Linked DNA regions of Homo sapiens: all the other regions are linked to region 3. Evidence: promoter capture Hi-C in 16 types of primary human blood cells and fetal thymus (Javierre and others, 2016). All regions are on one chromosome and are shown on one strand. The core of a region is centred on a gene start or on the middle of the fragment in contact, and the rest is flanking DNA. Distances in the headings are between cores, read along the strand shown. Region 1 holds the start of LOC124904648 (a long non-coding RNA gene). Region 2 overlaps NWD1 (NACHT and WD repeat domain containing 1). Region 3 holds the start of CPAMD8 (C3 and PZP like alpha-2-macroglobulin domain containing 8).

Evidence for each region. The method cuts DNA at HindIII sites, captures the fragments that hold promoters and counts their contacts. A CHiCAGO score of 5 or more calls a contact.
Region 1: a fragment that was not itself captured here is called in contact with the fragment with the promoter of CPAMD8 in region 3 in 1 of 17 cell types (endothelial precursors); the score reaches 6.3 in endothelial precursors.
Region 2: a contact is called between a fragment that was not itself captured here and the fragment with the promoter of CPAMD8 in region 3, in 8 of 17 cell types (endothelial precursors, M0 macrophages, erythroblasts and 5 more). The highest score is 9.2, in endothelial precursors.

What each region holds. Positions count from the first base shown.
Region 1 is chr19:16,816,935-16,821,846 of GRCh38, reverse strand. LOC124904648 (a long non-coding RNA gene) reads left to right here and starts at 615. Exons shown (of 3, transcript XR_007067150.1): 1 at 615-656; 2 at 751-836. It overlaps NWD1 (NACHT and WD repeat domain containing 1), which reads right to left. Exons shown (of 19, transcript NM_001007525.5): 19 at 3,894-4,912. RefSeq lists a silencer at 4,171-4,367. The HindIII fragment of the contact is 605 bases long and covers 1,711-2,315 here.
Region 2 is chr19:16,790,912-16,795,525 of GRCh38, reverse strand. It overlaps NWD1 (NACHT and WD repeat domain containing 1), which reads right to left. Exons shown (of 19, transcript NM_001007525.5): 14 at 3,904-4,176; 15 at 973-1,063. Among named protein-coding and RNA genes, the nearest start is that of SIN3B, 36 kb to the left of the region's middle. The HindIII fragment of the contact is 2,909 bases long and covers 1,033-3,941 here.
Region 3 is chr19:17,024,132-17,028,542 of GRCh38, reverse strand. CPAMD8 (C3 and PZP like alpha-2-macroglobulin domain containing 8) reads left to right here and starts at 1,733. Exons shown (of 42, transcript NM_015692.5): 1 at 1,733-1,992. The coding sequence starts at 1,901. RefSeq lists an enhancer at 653-1,561. The HindIII fragment of the contact is 6,852 bases long and covers 329-4,411 here.

The DNA.
Region 1 (4,912 bases), core at 764-3,263, 210 kb after region 3:
TCAGTGAGCCAAGACCATGCCACTGCACTCCAGCCTGGGTGACAGAGCAAGACTCTGTCTCAAAAACAACAACAACAACAACAACAACAAAAACCCTGCATGGGCCGGGCGCAGTGGCTCACGCCTGTAATCCCAGCACTTTGGGAGGCCGAGGCAGGTGGATCACCCGAGGTCAGGAGTTCGAGACCAGCCTGATAAATATGATGAAACTCCGTCTCTACTAAAAATACAAAAATTAGCCAGGCATGGTAGCATGTGCCTATAATACCAGCTACTCAGGAGGCTGAGACAGGGGAATCTCTTGAACCCAGGAGGCAGAGTTTGCAGTGAGCCAAGATCGCGCCATTCATTGCACTCTAGCCTGGGCAACAAGAGCGAAACTCTGTCTCAAACAAAAACAAAAACAAACAAACAAACAATGCCCCCCGACCCCCACCCCGCCCCAGAATCCTGTTTTATCAGCAGGGTCTTTGTGACCTGGGTCTTCCGTCCACCTCCTACCTCACCCTGTGGCTTAGAATGCCTAACCTCCCGGGAATGCAGCCCTGCAGGTCTCAGCCTCATTTTACCCAGCCCCTATTCTAGATGGAGTAAGCTTGTTTCAAACGCCTCTGACAAAACCACAAGCCAGTTCCATCTGGGGCATGTGTGTACATGTATGTATGTGCACACATGTGTATATTTATCATGAGGACAATAGTACAAAGACATCTTTTAATTTTATTTCCATTTATTTATTTTCTGAAACAGGTACTCGCTCTGTTGCCCAGGCTGGAGTGCAATGGTGCAATCACAGCTCACTGCAGCCTTGACCTCCTGAGTAGCCAGGACTACAGGTACGTGCCACCATGCCTGGCTAATTTTTTATTTTTATTTTTTTTACAGACAGGGTCTCACTAAGTTGCCTAGGCTGGATATTCTTATTTTTATCAAACATAAAAAGGTGCTACTGGGCCAGGTGCAGTGGCTCAAACCTGTAATCCCAGCACTTTGAGAGGCAGGCGGATCACTTGAGGCCAGGAGTTTGAGACCAGCCTGGGCAACACAGCAAGACCTCATCTCTAAAAAAATTTTTTTTGTTTTTTGAGACAGAGTCTCACTCTGTCACCAGGCTAGAGTGCAGTGGCATGATGTTGGCTCACAGCAACCTCCATCTCCTGGGTTCAACTGATTCTCCTGCCTCAGCCTCCTGAGTAGCTGAGACTACAGGCGCGCACCACCATGCCCAGCTAATTTTTTGCATTTTTAGTAGAGACAGGGTTTCACCATGTTGGCCAGGATGGTCTGTATCTCTTGACCTCATGATCTGCCAGCCTGGGCCTTCCAAAGTGCTGGGATTACAGGTGTGAACCACTGCACCTGGCCAAAAAAAAATTTTTTTAAAAGACAATCTGAGTCTGAGTCTGAGTCTGAGTTTGAGGTCAGAGATGAAGCATCAGAGAAATACAATGCTGCTGGCCTTGAAGAAGGAAGCAGCTGTTTTGCAAACTGCCTATGGAGAGGGGCAGCTGAGGTCTCCACTCCTATAGCTTTGAAGGGCTTAATTCTGCCAAGAATCTGAAGGAGCTTGGATGAAGACCCTGAGGCTCTCAATGAGAGCCCAGTCCGGCTGACACCTTGTGAGATCCTGAACAAAGAATCCAGTCATGCCATGCCCAGACTCCTGACTTGCAGAAATTGTAAGATAAGAAGTGGATGTTATTTTAAGCTTCTAACTTTGCAATAATTTACTAAGTAGTGATGGAGAATGGACACACCTATGAAGTATACTTGTCAAAAATGTCTATCCTGGGCCAGTTGCAGTGGCTCATGCCTGTCATCCCAGCACTTTGGGAGGCCAAGTCGGGTGGATCACTTGAGGCCAGGAGTTTCAGACCAGCCTGGCCAAAATGGCAAAACCCTGTCTCTACTAAAAATACAAAAATTAGCCTGGTGTGGTGGCGTACACCTGTAATTCCAGCTACTTGGGAGGCTGAGGCAGGAGAACGGCTTGAACCCGGGAGGCGGAGGTTGCAGTGAGCCGAGATCGCACCATTGCACTCCAGCCTGGGCAACAAGAGCAAAACTCCGTCTCAAAAAAAAAAAATTGTCTCTCCTCTGATAAGGAAGTGTCAATGCGAGTTCATCCATTGTAACAAATGCACCGCTCTGCGTTTGTTAGAGTGAGGGATGTTGATGGAGGAGGCTGTGCATGAGGGGTGCATAGGGTAGATGGGAAATCTCTGCACCTTCCACTTAATTTTGCTGTGAACCTAAAACTACTCTAAAAAAAGAAAGCCTATATAAAAGATGTTTACCCTAAATTTAGCCAAGCTTTAAGACCAAGGGTAGGCATATATACATAAGTATATGTGTGTGTGTGTGTATGTATATATGTGCATATACACATATGTATATACATATGTGTGTGTATATATACATATATACATATGTATGTGTATATATACATATATACATATGTATGTGTGTATATACACACATATATACGTATATATGTATATGTGTATATATATGTGTATATATGTGTGTGTATATATGTGTATATATGTGCATGTATATATATAGACACGTATATATTTGGTAAATATATATATATATTTTGGTAAAGGGCCAGATTAGAAATATTTCTGATGGCCAGGCGCCATGTAATCCCAGCACACTGGGGGGATCGCTTGAGCCCAAGAGTTGGAGACCAGCCTGGGCAATATAGTGAGACACCCTCTCTACAATAAATTTAAAAATTAACCAGGTATGGTTGTGCACATCTGTAGTTTCAGCTACTTGGGAGGCTGAGGCAGGAGGATCACTTGAGCTCATAAGTTCAAGGCTGCAGTGACCCATGATCATACCACTGCACTCCAGCCTGGGCGACAGAGAGAGACCCTCTCTGAAAAATAAAAAAGATATTAACTAACAATTAGTAATTCTCACAGGTGTGTGTGCTTATATAGGAATATGACCTTCCTAAGACACTTGTCTGATGTATGTAGGGGTGAGGTGTCTTGATGTCCCCAGGGCCAGGAAGAGGGTGAGGTCAGTTCCTGCAAATGCAGGGTCAGATACCAATTTTATATAGAATGTTGATGTTTTGTTCATCATTCATTTTTAAATTCATTTTGATTTTTAAAAATATGATAATAGGCCACACACGGTGGCTCATGCCTGTAATCCCAGCACTTTGGGAGGCCAAGGGAGCACAGATCACTTGAGGTCAGGAGTTCAGGGCCAGCTTGGCCAACATGGCAAAACCTCGTCTCTACAAAAAATACAAAAATTAGCTGGGCGTGGTGGCCTGTAGTCCCAGCTACTCAGGAGGCTGAGTCAGGAGAATCGCTTGAATCCAGGAGTCAGAGGTGCAATGAGCCGAGGTCGCACCATTGCACTCTAGTCTGGCAGCAGAGCAAGGCCTTGACAAAAAAAAAAAAAAAAGATAACAAAATATTATTTGTCTTCCAAAAGAAAAGAAAACAAGAAAAAAAAGAGAGAGAAAACATTATTTGTCATGATTGCTGAGCTTTTCGGCATCCCTTAATTTTATTTTATTTTTTTTCTGAGACATGGTCTCACTCTCTTGCCCAGGCTAGAGTGCAGTGGTGCGATCATAGCTAACTACAGCCTTGATCTCCTGGGCTCAAGTGATCCTCCCACCTTGGCCCCCTGAGTAGCTAGGACTGCAGGTGTGCACCACCATGCCCAGCTAATTAAAAAAAAATTTTTTTTTTTTTTTTTGGAGAGACAGGGTCTCAAACTCCTGGGCTCAAGTGATCCTTCTACCTTGGCCTTTCAAAGTGCTGGGATTACAAGCATTGACCAGCCAACTGTCAAACTTTCTTAGCAACCAAACTCTTTTTCAAATGAATAAACACTGCAAAAACTCCCAATATAAGCAATAATTTGTTGTAGCATTTTATTAGTAAAAAGGCATTTCCAATGTTTAAATTAGGATTTATCTACAAAACAATCAATTCTCACTGAGGCTGTGGAGATGGACACAGGCATTTAAAATCAGAATTTGTAGGTGAAATCTTAATTGGTCTCAACATCTACTTTATTTCTGCATTGGGTAAGCCCTTGATTCACAGAGAAGCAGTGGCAAAGAGTAGCTAATTTTTTCAGGGCTCCCTTCACAATTTAATTGGGCTCTTCAGTTAAATCAGTTAAATGAAAATGGCAGAAGAATCCTAAATTATTAGGTTGATGCAAAATTAATTGTGGTTTTTGCCATTACTTTTTTTTTTTTTTTTTTTTGGAGACAGAGTCTCTGTCACTCATGCTGGAGTGCAGTGGTGCGATCTCGGCTCACTGCAACCTCCGCCTCCCGGGTTCAAGCCATTCTCCTGCCTCAGCCTCCCAAGTAGCTGGAATTACAGGTGTACGTCACCACACCAGGCTAATTTTTGTATTTTTGAGTAGAGACAGAGTTTCACCATGTTGACCAGGCTGCTCTTGAACACCTGGCCTCAAGTGATCCACCCGCCTCAGCCTCCCAAAGTGCTGGGATTACAGGCGTGAGCCACCGAGGCTTTTGCCATTATTATTATTATTATGAGATGGAGTCTTGCTCTGTCACCCAGGCTGGAGTGCAGTGGCACAATCTCAGCTCACTGCAACCTCCGCCTCCCGGGTTCAAGTGATTCTCCTGACTCAGCCTCCTGAGTAACTGAGATTACAGGCACTCACCACCATGCCTGGCTGATTTTTGTATTTTTAGTAGAGAAGGGTTTCACCATGTTGTCCAGGCTGGTCTCAAACTCCTGACCTCAGGTGATCCACCTGCCTCGGCCTTCCAAAGAGCTGGGACCACAGGTGTGAGCCACTGTGCCCAGCCAGTTTTTGCCATTATTTTTAATATTTTTAATGGCGAAAACCACAGTTACTTTTTGCACCAACCTTAGTAATCTTCAACACCTTA
Region 2 (4,614 bases), core at 1,238-3,737, 230 kb after region 3:
AGAATCGCTTGAACCCGGGAGGTGGAGGTTGCAGTGAGCTGAGATCATACCACTGCACTACAGCCTACGCAATAGAGCGAGACTCGGTCTCAAAAAAAAAAAAAAAAAAAGGTAATTAGCACACTGTAACACCCCCTCTGGGGCTTCAGGGTCGTGGACCCCTTGTGTTTCCTTTGGGGTGACACATGGCCTGGTCTGCCCATGGGCCCTGCATGGAGCCTGGCCCTGTGTCAGTGCTTGAAGCAGCCAGCTGGACCCTACATTCACTTGCTCACATGCTCCCTCCTGCTAGGGGCTGAGTGCTCAGTCGTGGCAGTGGCCATGGGAGCCGCGGGCTGGGCCAAAAGCCAGATGTGACCCCACAGGCTGAATAAATGGGGTGCCCCCTGCTCCCAGCTTGGCAAAGAGGCCAAGAAAAATCCTGCATCAAAAGGAAAGAAAGGGCTGGGCGCAATGGCTCACGCCTGTGTAATCCCAGCACTTTGGGAGGCTAAGGTGGGCGAATCACCTGAGGTCAGGAATTCGAGACCAGCCTGGCCAACATGGTGAAACTCCGTCTGTACTAAAAATACAAAAATTAGCTGGGTGTGGTGGTGTGTGCCTGTAATCCCAGCTATTCAGGAAGCTGACGTGGGAGGATCGTTTGAGCCCAGAAATTCAAGGCTGCAATGAATTATGATTGAGCCACTCCACTCCAGTCTGGGTGACACAGCAAGACCCTATTTAAAAAAAAAAGAAAAATAATAGAAAAATAGTGTCTATGCTAGTTTATGTACCACAACTGCAGAGTTGAGTCTTTGCAACTGAGGTTGTCTCGTCTGGACTGCAAAAAATGTTTACTATGAGGCCATTTGGCAGAAAACGTTGCTAACCTCTGGCCCTAGGACTTCTCTCTGTTCCCAAGCCCCACCCCCTTCTCCAACCTGATCCTGATTAGCTTCCTCACTACTCCAAATGAGAGCTAAACGCTACCTGCGGCGAGGAGGGACTCATCTTCAGAGACCACCAGGAACCTCACAGCATCTGGAAGCTTCTCCAGCAATCTGTCCCCTTTGGAGGAAACCTGTGCAGAACCAGGGATGCCTGTCAGGCACTTCCACGGGTTAAGGGTTACAAGTCTGGAATTTTTTAATTTTTTAATTTTTATTTTTTTTGTTTTTGAGATGGAGTCTCACTCTGTCTCCCAGGCAGGAGTGCGGTGGTATGATCTTGGCTCACTGCAACCTCCGCCTCCCGGGTTCAAGCAATTCCCCTGCCTCAGCCTCCCAAGTAGCTGGGATTACAGGCACCTGCCACCATGCCCGGCTAATTTTTGTATTTTTAGTAGAGATGGGGTTTCACCATGTGGGCCAAGCTGGTCTCAAACTCTTGATCTCAGGTGATCCGCCCACCTTGGCCTCCCAAAGTGCTGGGATTACAGGCGTGAGCCACCATGCCTAGCTGACTCCATCTCTTAATAAAAATTTTAGCTGGGCATGGTGGTACACCCCTGTGGTCCCAGCTACTCAGGAGGCTCAAGCAGGAGGATCACTTGTGCCCCTAGGAGTTGGAGGCTGCAGTGAGCTATGATTGTGCCACTGCATTGCAGCCAGGGTGACAGACTGAGACTCTGTCTCTAAAAAATTTTTTAAATTAAAAACATAAAAGTTGGCCAGGTGTGGCGGCTCATGCTTGTAATCCCAGCACTTTGGGAGACCGAAGTGGGTGGATCACTCGAGGTCAGGAGTTTGAGACTATCCTGGCCAACATGGTGAAACCCCATCTCTACTAAAAATACAAAAATTAGCCGGGCGTGGTGGCACATGCCCGTAGTCCCAGCTACTGGGGAGGCGGAGGCAGGAGAATCGCTTGAAGCTGGGAGGTGGAGGTTTCAGTGAGCCGAGATTGCGCCACTGCATTCCAGTCTGGGCGACAGAGCAAGACTCAGTCTCAAAAAAAAAAACAACCAAAAACCAAAAAACAAAAAAACAGTTAAAAAAAAAAGGTAAAAAACAAATTCTGGCCAGGTACAGTGGGTCACGCCTGTAATCCCAGCACTTTGGAAGGCTGAATGAGCCCATAAGTTTGAAACCAGCCTAGGCAACATAGTGAGACCCCCACCTCTACAAAATAATAATAATAATAATTAGCCAGGCATGGGGGCATGCGCCTGTAGTCCCAGCTACTCAGGAGGCTGAGGCGAGAGGACGTCTTGAGCCCGGGAGGTCGAGGCTGCAGGGAGCCATGATCGTGCCACTGCACTCCCGCCTGAGAGATAAAGTAAGACCCTGTCTCAAAAAACAAAACAAAATATCTGCAAAGAGGCTTGAGAAAAAGAAAAACAACCCCAAGGATTTGGGAGTATCTTTCGTTGTTGTATTTGGTACCTTGAGAACTCATGAAGACCACAGGTCATGAGGTTCAGAAATGTGGAGCTTTGGGATTTGGGATGATTCTTCTTCTTCTTTTCTTTTCTTTTTTTTTTTATTTTTTAATTTTTTTGAGACAGGGCCTGGCTCTGTCACTCAGGCTGGAGTGCAGTGGTGCAATCTTGGCTCACTGCAGCCTCCACCTCCTAAGCTCAAATGATCCTCCCACATCAGCCTCTCAAGTAGCTGGGAGTACAAGTATGCACCACCATGATTCCTTTCTTTTTTTTTTTTTTTTTTTGAGATGGAGTTTTGATCTGTCACCCAGGCTGGAGTGCAATGGCATGATCTCGGCTCACTGCAACCTCCACCTCCCGGGTTCAAGTGATTCTCCTGCCTCAGCCTCCCTAGTAGCAGGGATCACAGGCACCCACCACCACACCCGGCTAATTTTTGGGCTTTTGTTTTTGTTGCTGTTGTTTTTTGTTTTGTTCTGAGATGGAGTTTTGCTCTTAATGTCCAGGCTGGAGTGCAGTGGTGCAATCTTGGCTCACTGCATCCTCCACCTCCTAGGTTCAAGCAATTCTCCTGCCTCAGCCTCCCAAGTAGTTGGGATTACAGGTGCTCACCACCACGCCCGGCTAATTTTTTGTATGCTTTTTTAGTAGAGATGAGGTTTCTTCATGTTGGCCAGGCTGGTCTCGAACTCCCAACCTCAGGTGATCCACCTGCCCCGGCCTCCCAAAGTGCTGGCATTACAGGTGTGAGCCACCGTGCCTGGTCAATTTTTGTACTTTTAGTAAAGACAGGGTTTTGCCATGTTGGCCAGGCTGGTCTCGAACTCCTGACCTCAAATGATCCACCCCCCCTCAGCCTCCCAAAGTGCTGGGATTACAGGAGTGAGACACAGCGCCCAGCCAGTCTATATGTTAATGTCCATGAAAGCAGCCGTCCACCAACCACCAACAGGGCAGGTGGATAGAGCCCAACTCCTAGTCCCTCTGTGGCGCAACTCTCAACCTCATTCCACACCATGTCTTAGAGATCCCCTGAAGGACTGAGCTTCAACAATTGCCCACATTGGTCAGTCCCCAAGAGACGCCAACAGATGTTTCCTGAACTGTGCTGAACTGCAAATCCCTACGATTAAGAAGCCAAGCGTGTGGCCGGGCACGGTGGCTCATGCCTGTAATCCCAGTACTCTGGGAGGCCGAGGTGGGCAGATCATCTGAGGTTGGGAGTTTGAGACCAGCCTGACCAACATGGAGAAACCCTGTCTCTACTAAAAACACAAAATTAGCCAGGCGTGGTGGCACTTGCCTGTAATCCCAGCTACTCGGAAGGCTGAGGCAGTGAGAATCGCTTGAACCCGAGAGGCGGAGGTTGCAGTGAGCTGAGATTACACCATTGCACTCCAGCCTGGGCAACAAAAGTGAAACTTCATCTCCAAAACAAAACAAAGATACAAGGCAAGATTATTTTTCCCAACTTCTAGCACATCTGAGCACTTTCAAGCTGAGTTAATGTTCACATCATAGTCAGTAAAGGTGCTTACCAAAGAGATGGAGCCATTGCTAAACCCGGTAACAAGCTTTCCTTGCTTCTGGACTGAGACGGCACAGGTAGGTGTTTCTTCTTTGATGCTGGACATATGTTGCTTCCCCTGAAGTTTTCCCGTAGCTGAGCTCCACAGACTGACCACACCATCCCTGGACACTGTCAGCAGTGTGGCCTGGGAGGCCAGCACGGCCATGCACATCCAAGGATCAGAGGCATCTCCCAGGATATGGAATACCGGCTCTGCAGTTTCCAGATTCCAAGCATTGATCTAATAGAATAATGAAGAGGAAGCAGCATCTTGGCAGGAGACCTAGACTACAAGTTTCCCGGAGTCAAATGCAAGATGCCTTCTCTTGTATACTTTATGCATTTTCTTTTCTTTTGGAGACAGAGCCTCTCTTTTTCACCCAGGCTGGAGTGCAGTGGTGCAATCATGGCTCACTGCAGCATCGACCTCCTGGGCTCAAGCAATCCTCCTGCCTCAGCCTCCCAAGAAGCTGGGACCACAGACACGCACCACCATGCCTGGCTATTTTTAAATTTGTTTTTGTAGAGGCAGGGTCTGACTATGTTGCCCAGGCTGCTCCTGAGCTCCTGGGCTCAAACTATCCTCCCTGCTCAGCCTCTCAAAGTGCTGGGATTATGAGTGTGAGCCACTGCACCCGGCCTATGCATTTTATTTTTAACACTCCCAATTCAGAGAAAA
Region 3 (4,411 bases), core at 484-2,983:
TTTAGCAGCCTGTTTGGGGTTGGCCTGGTCTGAGCTTGGAGGCAGGCAGCTCCTCCTCTTCTCCAGGCAGGAGAGACGGCTACTCAATCTACTCCGGCCCCTGCGCGCGTGCACGCACACACACACACCAACACACCATCATCAGTTACGTCCCCTCTGGGTTGTGTGCTCAGTGGCAGCAGGTCCTGTATGTCCCAGGGTCCTCATTGCCCAGCCCAGGGCTTGGTGCTGCCTGGGTGATCAGTGTTGGGTCCAAAGGCTGTTGACAGGGCTGAGAAGCCCCCAGAGGACCCACATCCCTAGGGGCAGGGAGGGGGCAAGAGAAGCTTCCCTTGAGTTTCCTGGAAGGATCAGGAGTTGGACTGGCAAAGGAGGCAGGTAGAGGAAGACAGAGATTAGGCAGAAGCAGGCAGTGGAGTAAGAACAGGGTGTTGGAGGAACTAGGCTGAGGTCTCTGCCATCAAAGCCAGAGTTTAGATTTGGTCTCAATAAACGGGAAGCCCTGGCTGGATGTGGTGGCTCACACCTGTAATCCCAGCACTTTGGGAGGCTGAGGAGGGAGGATCATTTGAGCCCAGTGCTCAAGACCAGCCTGGGCAACACAGTGCGACTCCGTTTCTAAAAAAAAATATATAAAAATTAGCTGGGTGCGGGCTTGCACCTGTAGTCCCAGCTACTCTCCAGGAGTCTGAAGCTGCAGTGAGCTGTGACTGCACCACTAAATTCCTGCCTGGGCAACAGAGCAAAACTCTGGTCTCAAAACATAAAAATAAAATGTAAAATAAACAGGGAGCCCCGAGGATTCCGGGCAGGAGGGGGTGTGGTCAGCACTGGAATTTTAGAAGAAGGGCAGTTGGTAGCTGGGGGAAGGGGGTTCCACACTGGAAGGAGGGGGTCCAGGACTTGGACATGGTATAGGATGTGCCGCCTGCCAGTGGGACCTAGGACAGCAGGACCATCACTGAGGTGGCCACACGGGGAGGGGCAGGAGGGGACACCCTGCTCTTGGAGAGAAAGGGGGTGCCCATCCACCCCTGCTGTATGAAGGGGAAAGGGGGACTCTGAGGCCCAGCGAGAGAGGGGACGGGCCCAAGGGATTTGTGGACAGTGGGGGTGGGGGAGAGGGGAGCAGAGAGCACAGATAGGGACCTGGGGCAGATGTGAGTCTGGGAGGTTCGACCCCTGGCTAGACTGTTTCCCCAAAGGGTCCTCTGCTCCTTGGGCTGTACGCACTGCACTGGGCACTAGATACAGGCCAGGGCTTAGGGCACGGCGGCGCCTGTGGGATCGGGGTTGCAGGCGGCGTCCAGACCCAGGGGCCCCTGGTGAGGGGCGGGCCCGGGGAGGGGGCCATAAGGGGCTGGCTGGGGAGGGAGGGAGGGAGAGGCCAGGGAAGGGACAGGTTCCGAGTGGACGCTGGGTGGAGAGGAGAGGGAGAGTGGGGGCGGTGGGGGGTCGGGTCCGAGGCGGGGCTGGTGGGGAGGGGGGCATCCGGGGGCGAATCCGGGTAGGGGGTGAGGAGGCGGGTTCGGAAGGAATCGGGCAGGGCCCGGGTGGGTCCGGTGAGTAAGTGAGGGGACGATCCCCGGAAGGGATCGGGGCGGGTCGGGGTCCGGAGATGGGCGGAGCAGGCGTCCCGGGAGGGTGCGCCCAGGAGCGGGGCGAGCGGGGCGAGCGGGGCGGTCCCGGAGACGAGGCGGGTCCGGGGAGGGGGCTGGCCCGGGGCTGCCCCAGCTTGGCCGGGCGCGGAGCGGGGCGCATGGCGCCGGGCGCACTGCGCGGGGGCTGCGAACAAAGGGCCCCCGGCGGCGGCGCGAGGACGGCCGCGCTCGGACCCTGGCCCTGGCCCAGCCCTGGCCCGGCCCCCTCCCCAGGCGCGGCGCCCCCCAGGAGCCGAAAAATGAGCGGCGCCCTGCTCTGGCCGTTGCTCCCGCTCCTGCTCCTGCTGCTGTCGGCGCGGGACGGCGTGCGCGCCGCGCAGCCTCAGGCCCCGTGAGTATCCTCCGGCGACAGAGGAGGTCGGTCGCCTTCTGGGGTGGGGGTCGCGGGTACTGGCTCAGAGTGTTGCAGCGACCTGCCCAAGGCCACACAGCCTCCGCGCTGGGCTGGACCTGGCCTCTTGTTCCCGAATCGTCTTGAGGAGGGGGCGCCCTAAAGTTTCCGAAGTGGCTCTGTGGAGGTACAGGGACTCCCAAAAGCTAAAGGTGCTGAGGTCAGCTCCCCCCGCCCCACCTCGCCCCCTTCGTGTGACCCGGGCTGTCATCATGGGTGGCGATTTCCAGTTGTCCAAGGTATGAAGGTAAGAGGAGCGTCTTGGCTGAGAAGTGGGAGGAGAGTGCGAAGGGGCACTTTCCCGTGGGTGGGCGTGGTGAGGGAGGAGGAAGTGTTTGTTTTGCTTCTACATTTTTCTAGAGGTTTGCTTGCAGGCTTCTGGTGGGTTGACAGCGGGGAGAAGGTGAATTAACTAACTGCTGGGGAGTACTGCTAAGTTGGCTTCACAGAGAATATTTCTAAACCTGGCAAGTTCGGGTGAGCTCTGCAGGGCTGCGGGTTCAGGGGGGCTGCCCTGGTCTGCACAAGACCAGCCTTTTAGTCCAGCTGGGCGTTTAGAAGGCGGCTTGTTCAAGCAGCCCTTGTTTAGGAGTTTCCAGAAAACTGGTAAGCAGTGAGACTAGGTGGGTGTCGTTATTTGCAGTGAGTAGTTGGTCCTTGCTGGTCACAGTTTTAAAAGCAAGACAGTCTACTGCGCTCTGAGCATCCAGACTTCCCTCTCCTAGGCTTCGTGAAATCGGAACCCTACAAATTTTCATCCTAATGCTTCTTTCAAAGCTGGCATCCCTTAGAATAGTGGTTCTCAGCCCTGGGGGGGATTTTTGTCTCCCTGAGGCCGCTGGGAAATGTCTGGAGGTATTTTTGGTTGTCACAAATAGGGAGAGGCATTTGGTGTTGGCATTAAGTGGGTGCAGGCCAGGAATGCTGGTAAACAGCTTTCGATGTGCAGGTCAGCTTCCACTGCAAGGAATGACGCGGCCCCACATGACAGACCTTGGCTCCAATGAGAGACCCTGCCTTATACAGAGGTTTTTGTTTGTTGTTTGTTGTTTTTGGGGTTTGTTTTTGTTTTTGTTTTGAGATGGAGTTTTACTCTTGTTGCCCAGGCTGGAGTGCAATGGCACGATCTTGGCTTACTGCAACCTCCGCCTCCCAGGTTCAAATGACTCTCCTGCCTCAGCCTCCTGAGTAGCTGGGATTACAGGCGTGTGCCACCACACCCGGCTAATTTTTTGTATTTTTAATAGAGATGGGGTTTCTCCATGTTAGCCAGGCTGTTCTGGAACTCCTGACCTCAGGTGATCCACCCACCTCCGCCTCCCAAAGTGCTGGGATTAGAGGCGTGAGTCACCGTGCCTGGCCCGTTAGAGAGTTTTAAACAGTTCTCCAGGGCGTTTTCCTCTGACTAAAGTCACCCTGTGATCTTACCATCTGTTAAGTGACATGGAATCCCTGTGCTGAGAGACACACTGGGGAAGAGATGTCCCCAAATGACCGACCTGGGATTCCAGATTAGCTGGCCTCTAAGCCAGGGGCATGGTTCACCCAGCCCAAAGGATCTCGTCTTAGGAATAGCTCTGGATGCCCACTTCTGTCACCTGAGAGATTTTTGTGTGAGGAATCTCTGATCCCAGAAAGCAGCACAGTTTGCAGTTGTAAGAGCAATTCTGTCTACACTGACCCAGACATCCCTTTCCCCAATCTGGGACCTTCTGAGACCAGCAGGATGAGAAGCAGTGTTGGCCCAGATGCTAGGGGTGGGTCAGGTGTGACAGTGAATGGCTGGCAAGCATCCCAACAGCTGGAAACAGCTGCAACTTCTGAATGGCAGGGAAACTTAATTTGGTGATGTCAGTTTCTCTGGGCAGTTGGATGAAGACTTGAACCCGTATTGTCAGGAGTTTCAAAGGTGACCAAGCAAAATGAACACGTATTCCTTACTCTCTCTTCTACACTCACCATGTACTATATGTGAGGCCCGTCTAAACTCTAGGGATCAGCTGGGAGCCAGACAGAAAGAGTATTCCCCTTTTAAAGGATGCCACATTCCAGTGCTGGAGCTGGACAGGACACCTGGACAGGGTAATTGCATGTCCTGGTCAGTGCTGGAGTTATGTAATACACAGCACATACCCAGGGTCTTGCAAACTCCAGTTGGTCCTAGAGTTGGACAGCACATGTGTGATCCCAGGGGACTGAACTCTGGTAATTATTCAAGGCAGATGTAGCACACTATGATCACAGGGTCAGTGCACACTGTGGCCAGGGCTGCAGTAAACAACCCAAACCCATTGTTCGTGTGCATGAAACAACACAAACCCACTGCGTCTTTTGAGATGCAAAATTGGTAATGATGTTT